2 separate regions of the Homo sapiens genome follow, and region 2 is linked to region 1. The links are contacts of gene promoters, found by promoter capture Hi-C in human tissues and cell types (Jung and others, 2019). All regions are on one chromosome and are shown on one strand. The core of a region is centred on a gene start or on the middle of the fragment in contact, and the rest is flanking DNA. Distances in the headings are between cores, read along the strand shown.

Region 1 (4,182 bases), core at 608-3,107:
TCTACAAAAAATTTACAAATTAGCCCGGCATGGTGGCATGTGCCTGTATTCCCAGCTACTTGGGAGGCTGAGATGGGAGGATCCCTTGGCCCTGGGACATAGAGACTGTAGTGTGCTGTGATCATGCCACTGCACTACGGCCTGGGTGACAGAGTGAGGCCCTTTCTCAAAAAATTTAAGACAGGCCAGCAAGTGAGAGATTAGTATTACTCCCTTTTGCAAAAGAGGAAACTCAGGCTCAGAGAGGAGTCATAGGACAGGTGAGGTAAGACTGGAATCTAAACCCAAGGCTATGGGGTTCAAGGACTAGGCCCCTTCCTCTGCTCCTCAAGCCTCACTAAGTCACCTGTGTGGTAGCTGAAACGCTGTATGTCTCAGGAATGCAGTTTCCTCAGCTGTAAAGTAAGGGAATTGGGCCAGAGCAGGGGCAGAGCCCTGGGCAGGCCACCAACCAGATTTGCCCGCTGAAGGCTAAGGTCGAGCCTGGGTCCTCAACTTGGCGTCAAAGAAACTTGTTTCTCCTGGGCTAAATGGCAGTGACAGTATAAGGTTTGAAGTTTTGGAAGAGGGGAGAGAAAGAGAGGGTTGGCTGGAGTTCCAGTGCCCAAAGGGTCTTCCCCACACTGGAACCTGAAGGCCTAGGCCCTATAACTCGGGCTATGAGGATACTTAGGTCCCTGGAAGGTGCGTGGCCCAGCTTAGACAATAGGCGCAGGAGGCTAGACAAGGGGCCTTTGTGTCTCCCAAGCAAAGGCCCCAGCAGGACTGCAGAGGCGGCTCAGCCACTATGGGCTGTGTGTCCACTCTGCTACTGCTCCTGGTGGGGCTGCAGCCAGCACCCTTCCTGGCAGCCAGGCCCAGTCAGCTGATATGGAGCCCAAGAGGGCCCAAGGCCCCGAAGGCCCGGGGCAAGTTCCTTGGCTACAGGAAGAGGCCTCCTCTGCACTTGTCCAGCCAGCGGAGCGATTGGCTCCATTTCACAGGAAAGAAGACCCTGCCAGGGAATGGAACTGGGTCAAGGTCTCCCAGAGTCAGTGCTGAAGCCAGACAGGAACCTACACTCCTGATTCCTAGACCAGAAATGAGAGAGAGGCGGGGTGCTCATTCATTCATCCATTCACACCTTCAAGGATTGAGCACCTCCCAGGACCTCTAGGACAGCAGCAGGAAGAAGGCAGACCTGGTTCCTGCCCTCGGGAGCTCACAGTCTCCGAACGGGTCAGACATGCAGCCGGTAGCCCGACCAGGGAAGGCCATTAGAGTGGGGTTGACGACAGAGAAGAGAGGTAAAGCAGCTCAAGATAAGGGGCCAGAGTGGGGAGTTCAGGGAGCTGCTGATAAGATTAAGGCAGGGAAAGTGGGGAGCACGGGAGAGGCGGGATCCTGAGTACCCTGCTTTCCTAACCACGGTAATGGAGAGAGGCACCCCCTTCCCCCACTTTCAAGCAAGGGAGGTACGTCCTTAGCCTGGGGTTCCGAGCAGGTATCTCCCAGTAGGTCCCTTCCTGGCCAGCCGGGCTGGGGCAGGGGCGGGACAGGGGTAGGGTGGCGCGGTGGCTGGGCGCAAAGGTCCCGCAGTGGGCCACGCAGGCACCGGGCTGACCTGGCAAAACTTTGGCGTCTCTGAAAACCTCTGGTAACCAGCTCCCTTCTAGCGTGAGGGAGCCGGGAGGCCTCCTTCTGGCCCGGCAGTGAGAGCGTCGCCGCCCGACCCTCCCGTTGCAGCACCGGTACAGACACGCTGACCCCGCGGCCTTGTCGCTGGGCGGCGTCCCGGAGCGGGTGGCGCGGTGTCTACCCGGGCGGGTTGAGGGCGGTGCCAGGGTCAGTCAAAAGTCCGCCCCGCCCCCTGCCTGGCCCGGCTTCGGGGTTGGGGAACAGCGCAGGGAGGTGGGTAGCCGGGCTCCCAGGCACGTGGGTCTCTGCGGCTGCGGCGGGACCCGGGCACTGGCACCCGGGAGCGGCGGCGACGGCACCCTGAGAGGAGAAGCGCAGCGCAGTGGCGAGAGGTGGGGTGGGGCGTCTGGAGGGAACAAGGCGCTGGGAGAGGCCCGGGGAAGCGGCGGGCCAGACTGGCGCAGGTGCGGACTGGGCGCGGGGCAGGGGAGGGCGCTGTGGAGCGGCTGTCGCCCCGGGGCACAGTTGCGAGCCGGCGTGTAGCGCATAACTGGACGGCTTGAACGCGCCTGTGGGTCCGTGGTTGAACTTTGTCTCCACGGGAGCGTCGGTCTCGGTGAGTGTGGACGGGCGCCCCAGTAGTGAGGCTGTGCGCGTCAGCGTACTGGGGAGGTCTGCGTGTTAGCGGGTGAGTGTGTGCGCCCCTCGGGGCGACTGGCCAAGCCTGCGGAACTTGTCTGTGTGTGCTCCGATGTGAGCGTCCCCGTGGCGTGAGGCGGTGGCCGGTGCCCAGAGACGCGAACCCCTGGAGACCCCCTACCACTGTCCTAACCCCAGGGTCACTCTGGGTGGCCACCTACCATTGGTAATGTTGAGGGGGCAGTTGCAGGGAGTGGGCGGGGGAGGAGGGAGTGGCCAGAAAGGACAGTTAAGCCTCTGTCCCCGGGCTTTTAATCTGGCAAATGGTGCGGTAGAAAGGGTCAGTCAGGAGAAAGGCGATACCCCACCCCCCAACCCGAAGGCTGCCAGTGGCCCTCTTGGGGTCCTCCAGGAGCGCAGCCCAAGGGTTGGGGACTGCTGGAGACCAGAATTGCCAGCTCGGGATTTGTGGGGTCCATGGCTGCTGTTCCTCTCAGCATGGCATCCCCAGCTTCCCAGGACCACAGCCTGATCTGCCTGGTTTGTTTTGGATCTAAGCTGAAATAATTATGAGTTTTGAGGATCTGGGTGGAGACCCAGGCAAGTTTATTACCTGTGGGTGGAAGTGGAAGGAAGAAGATTCTCTGAGCAGACAGGTCCACAAGAGAGCTCTGGAGACTCAGAGATCTATGTTCCAATCCTGTCTTGGCCACTGTGTGGCCTGGGCAAGCCGTCCTTTCTCTGAGCCTCAGTGGCCTCGTCTGTAAGAAGGGACTAATGATAAGGAATTTGAGGGCTGTTGAGGAGCTGATGAGTGTGTCATGTTCAGCACCAGTGTCCCCCCATGGGCAGGCTCACAGCTTGGGGATGGGAAGTCAGTCCCTGGAAGGAGCCTCCCAGAACCAGAATCCCAACTGTGCCCCTCCCTAGGGCACAAGCCTTCCACAGGACCAAGCCTGAACCCTGTAGCCTGGGACTTAAGGTATTTGATAACTGGGGCCTGCCAGCCTTTCCAGCCACCTCTCCCGCCTGACTCTTTACCTTGCAGCAGCTGCCTGGAGTCTCTCATTTCTTGCCCCTGGCCTGTTGCATATTCTACACTCCCTCTCTGATAAGCCCTCCTACTCTCACCTTCCTCAACTGGAGAACTACCCAGACTTGGGACCCAGCTCAGATGTCCTCTCCTCTGGAAAGCCTTCCTTGATCCCTACAGCTGGGTTGGAGCCTCTTCTAGGCCCCTACAGGCCTGGGGCTGACAGCCCTGGTCCCACCTGAACCGTCATGATCTATGTCTGTCTCCTCCTTTCCTCTTCCCAGGTCTAGGGGCTCCTGGAGGGCAGAAACTGGGTCTTATTATTTCTGTGTTGCCAGCACCCTGCACAGGGCTGAGCTGAACTGAGAGAGCAGCAGTGGCGCCCATCCCCTGTCTCTGGCACCAGCTTCTCCAGTAAAGGCCCGGCTGCAGGGGAGCTCCATGTCACTACAAAGAAGGGCAAACCAGAATCTGGTTATCAAAGTGGGTGGCACAGTTTGCCAGAACAGTGTGATCTGGGACACTGTAGGACCTAGAGTGCCCAGGCTAAAGACCTAGAGATTTTATCCTGAAGGCAATAGGGAGCCATGGAAATTTATGAGCAGAGGTGTTTCATGGTCAGAGCGGCATTTCAGAAAGCGCTCTCTGGCTGCAGGATGGAGAATGGATCAAGTATTGCCAAGTGCAGGGAGGTCAGGGCATTTGTGATGTCAACACTAGAACTGTCCCAGGAGTTGTTTGAACCCTAATTGAGCCCTTGCCCCTTGGCCAAACACTTTTCCCTGAGCCTTCAGATGCTCCTGCTGAGGAATTTGGGGACCTGCAATTGATCTCATCCCAGCTCTGTTCCCAGCTGGTTGAATGACCAGTTCCTGCCCTGCCAGGCTCTAAAA
Region 2 (4,182 bases), core at 982-3,481, 1.2 Mb before region 1:
AGAATTGCTTGAACACGGGAAGTGGAGATTGCAGTGAGCTGAGATCGCACCACTACACTCCAGCCTGGGCGACAGAGAGAGACTCTGTCTCAAAAAAAAATAAAAATAAAAATAAAAAGACTGTATTCTCAGCTTCTAAGCCTAGAGTAATGATTGTTTAAAAAATAAAAAACAAAAGTAGGTATGATCACTTGTAAATATCCTACATAACTGCTGCCAGGCAGCAAGGAGGAGCTCCATAGGAACTGAGATGATACAACATGGCCCAGAAATCGACCTACTCCATTACACACACTTTTCCTGAGCATCAACTCTGCCTTGTGTTGGGGACAGAAACAAACCCCCACCATACTTGACAACTCAGGATCCTAGTATTCCCCATTTCAGAGATGAGGGGATTCTCAGGAGTGTGTACCTACTTACCTTTCTGTAGGAAGTTCTCTAGGTCCTCATTAAGGTTTAGCCCGTCCTCATGGTCCAGCACAAATTTAAGAATGACAGCCAACTCAGCCTGGGCCACAGGGAGAAAAAGAGCATCACTTAGGTGTTAGGCCTCTGAAGGGATGGCTGCCAGGAGCTCCACCCTGGCAGTGCCAGTCCCCGGCTCCCTCATGCCCTAGGAGCCTGCTGGATCCCATTCTCCCTCTCAGAGCTGAGGTCCTATGACCCAGCCAACAACATTCAACTAGAGATATGTTCACCCCACTTGTCCCCTTCCCTCCCACCTCCCCTCAAGATGTACCGAAGTCAGAGTTCCTGACTGACTTAACTCCTGACCACAAGTGAAGTGACTGTTAAGGAAAGTAACACAATCAGAAAGTTGCTTTTATTGTTATTGTTGTTAAGAAACAAGATCTTGCTCTGTCACCCAGGCTGGAGTACAGTGGCACAATCATAGCTCACTATAACCTCCAACTCCTGGAGTCAACTCCTCCTCCTCAGCTCCCCAAGTAGCTAGAACTACAGACACACACTGCCACACCCAGCTCATTTTTTTTAAAAAAAATATTTTTTGTTGAGACAGGGTCTCGCTATGTTACCCAGGCTGATCTTGAACTCCTGGCCTCAAGCAATCCTCCTGTCTCGGCCTCCCAAAGTGCTGGGACTATAGGCGTGAGCCACCACGCCCGGCCAGGAAGCTTTTATATATAACTATGTTGGCCTCTTCCAGATGACCCTACCAGAGGAAAGGATGAGATAAATGAAGTGAAAGTTCTGTGGGGGAAAAAAAACACACACACACAGAAACACATATAGGAACAGAGAATAATTTCTACGTATTATCCTAAAACACATTACAGTTAAACATATGCACATAAAAAAGGACTTGAAAGTACATCCTTTAAAAAGTTAGCAAACTCTGGGAATGAGTTTATCGGCAACTGTTATTTCCTCCTGCATGCTTTTCAACGTTTCCCAGACTTTCTATGATGAATGGCAATAATTGCTATAACTGTATTTTTAAAAAGTCCAGTATCTGCTGTTCAAAGAAAAACAAGTCAGGTGAGGTGAAGCATGGGCTAGGCCTGCTAGGTGGCATGGAGGCACAAGGGCTTACCTGAATTTTATATTCAAACTGTTCCCAGTCCCTGGGACTTTTGGAGCTCATGGTAGAGTGGTATAAGAGCAGCATGGTCATCTAGAAGCCAAACAGGAGGCAGTCACTGAGTGGGGCTGTCTCTCTTCTCAGTGCCCCCATTCTGGGCTGTTCTGGGGACTCTGAGCTATTCCGGTGACTCTTCTAAAAGTCCTGGAATTCAGCAATCCCAGGCCACCATCCTTAACAGCTCCAGGAAACACTTTTTTTTTTTTTTTTTAATTAAGGATAGTGTACACTGTACAAAAAGCTGAGCGCCAAGATTCCTGCATGGCTCAATTCCTGGACTCATGGAACCCTGGGTGTGAAGCTTTAGGTACCCTCTATAGGCCAGCACCCAGAAAGAGCAGAGGGAATGACTTAAGACTGAGCTATAATAAAAATATGGTGATAGCCGAATGAGACCTGATTTCTGCCAGGTCTCCACCGAGGCCCACAGTAATGGTCTAGTAAACCATTGTTTGTTTCATAATCTCTGTCATAAGATCATGGGCTCCTAGAATCCTTGGGCTAAATTAGCCTCTGTCTCAAGACAGGTGGCTGCCTGGTTCTACCTCCAACGTACTAGAGCCCCAGAAATAAAGCACCCATCATCTCCCCTTGGGTTAAGAGAAGGCCCTGCAGGGTCCCTCAGGTACCATCACCCCAACCCTGCCCTGCCTCCCCAGTCTGGTATTCCATAGGTACCTTCGCCAGTTCCAGCTCTGATCCCTCTAGCACCTTCTGTGCAGATACCAGGCATTCTGGGGAAGAGGGATGTTTTCGATTTTCTGCAATGACAACAACGTAGAAAACAGGGTGAACTTCCTGGAAACCATACCTGAGATCCCAGAACACTGAAATCTGGGGAGCAGAATGGCTATCTCTGGTGGGGCTATGAGATGTAGGCCTCCTTACTCCTATGGCCTCTTTCCCCTGCCTTACAATTTTCCATCTGAAGTCAGTTCTATCCTGGGTCAATCCAAGGGCTACAGGGATAATGGAAGAAGAAAGCAGCCTCGGAATTCACAGCAACTCTGGGTCATGATGTTGCACTCTCCCACCCACTCACCAACTCTCAGCACCACAGAGGAAGAGCCCAGAGATGCCAGGTCACTTTAGAATCCTGTTCCAACTGAGGTCACAGAGTAAACCTATAGCTGAGTCAGAAAAGGACAACTAGGGATACGTGACTCTTATACTGCCCGAGGGTCTGGGCTCAAATTACTAACACCTTACTTTATCTAAATAAAGCCTCACCTTTCCTATAATTCTCTAGGGGTGGAGATGGCAGCTAGCTCCCCATGTCAAAGACGAGGACTCTGTGGTCTAAGGCTGGACAAGGGGAGGGGAACTGAAAAGCACTGTACTAGAAGCTTTGCATGTGTTCTTATTTAATCCACCCATCCACTTGAAGAGCAGTTATCTCCATATTATAGATAGGGAACCTATGTCCAGAAAGGTCACACAAGCAGTGAGGGGGGTCAAGATCAACCTTAATGTGCCTCTGCCCCTACACCTATCGCCTAAGCAATTAATTCAAAGTTATCTGGGAAAAACAGTTTTTCTTGCAAGGGAAAGAGACTCATTCTCTCTTCTGTCTCCTTGAAGTTCGGGGAAACAGAAACTTAAGGTGCTCAAAGAGTTAAAAGTGACAGGTCCCAAAAAGTAACCTTCTGGCTCCACCTAGATCTCCGAGAAGGGCTCTGGGACTGAAGGGACACTCTTCTTACACCAACTGATGAAGGCATCACAAGACCCAGGGGATCTGAACCAGCTGTTTTCATCTTTGTGTTAAAGAGTGGGGAGCCTTGAAATTTTTCTCCTCCAGACACCCATGAACTAGTTCCTCTGGACTCTCCAATCCCACGAGCTGAGGAAGCAGCTTCTTCATAGCTGGATAAGAAAGGTGCTTACTCTGCAGAAAACTGCACACAAAGTCCAGTCTCTCTGACACCGGCTGCTTCAAGATTTGCTGTCCCTCTTCAGTGCCATGGCTAGAAAAAGAGCAAGTATTAGGACCAGAGTATTCAGCAATCTTTGCCTCCTTGCTGCTGCATTTCATAGTACCTCCCCATTCCTTCCAGTCTTGATCTCTGCTGGATCTGGAAGAGATCCAGATCAGATCCTGGAGGCAGGTGACAGATACCAGGACACCATTTATCCAGATGGAACTGTGTGGTGGGTGGGAAGAGGGGACTTGAGGCATGGGGTTCTTCTGGAAAAGATGGCACTCTGCCACCCTATTTGCAAACATAAAAAAGCTCTGTGGAAAGGGGCCGAGAGGAGACGGAGGCAGCACAGATGAACGGGAAGCTATATTACACCATCTGGAATGGCTCAACTCTAAACTGTCAGGAAGCCTGGAGAACACACCTAGGTTAAGAGTGAGAGAAGACCATGGGGAGGGAAAAACATCCAAGAACTGAAAGAACAGGAGGAAACAAGGCTCTGAAGTGACAGGGTGAAGTTCCCCCACTAGGCTGAAGGCTGAGATGGCAAAAGCCTCCCAGAGGAGGATCCCAGGGACTAGAGTGTTGTTTGTTTGTTTGTTTGTTTGAGACAGAATCTCGCTCTGTTGCCCAGGCTGGAGTGCAGTGGCACGA

The links. The method cuts DNA at HindIII sites, captures the fragments that hold promoters and counts their contacts. A contact is called where the count stands out against the background at its distance.
Region 2: a contact is called between a fragment that was not itself captured here and the fragment with the promoter of P2RY2 in region 1, in 1 of the 25 tissues and cell types used here (spleen).

What each region holds. Positions count from the first base shown.
Region 1 is chr11:73,216,424-73,220,605 of GRCh38, forward strand. It overlaps P2RY2 (purinergic receptor P2Y2), which reads left to right and starts at 1,858. Exons shown (of 3, transcript NM_002564.4): 1 at 1,858-2,009. It overlaps LOC124902709 (a long non-coding RNA gene), which reads right to left and starts at 1,770. Exons shown (of 3, transcript XR_007062773.1): 1 at 1,604-1,770. RefSeq lists enhancers at 1,692-2,410, 2,411-3,129 and a silencer at 1,769-1,978. The HindIII fragment of the contact is 8,220 bases long and covers 1-4,182 here.
Region 2 is chr11:72,020,781-72,024,962 of GRCh38, forward strand. It overlaps NUMA1 (nuclear mitotic apparatus protein 1), which reads right to left. Exons shown (of 27, transcript NM_006185.4): 5 at 3,494-3,573; 6 at 2,285-2,367; 7 at 1,559-1,639; 8 at 424-511. It overlaps NUMA1-AS1 (NUMA1 antisense RNA 1), which reads left to right. Exons shown (of 4, transcript NR_104178.2): 4 at 1-139. Among named protein-coding and RNA genes, the nearest start is that of NUMA1-AS1, 8.6 kb to the left of the region's middle. The HindIII fragment of the contact is 4,192 bases long and covers 136-4,182 here.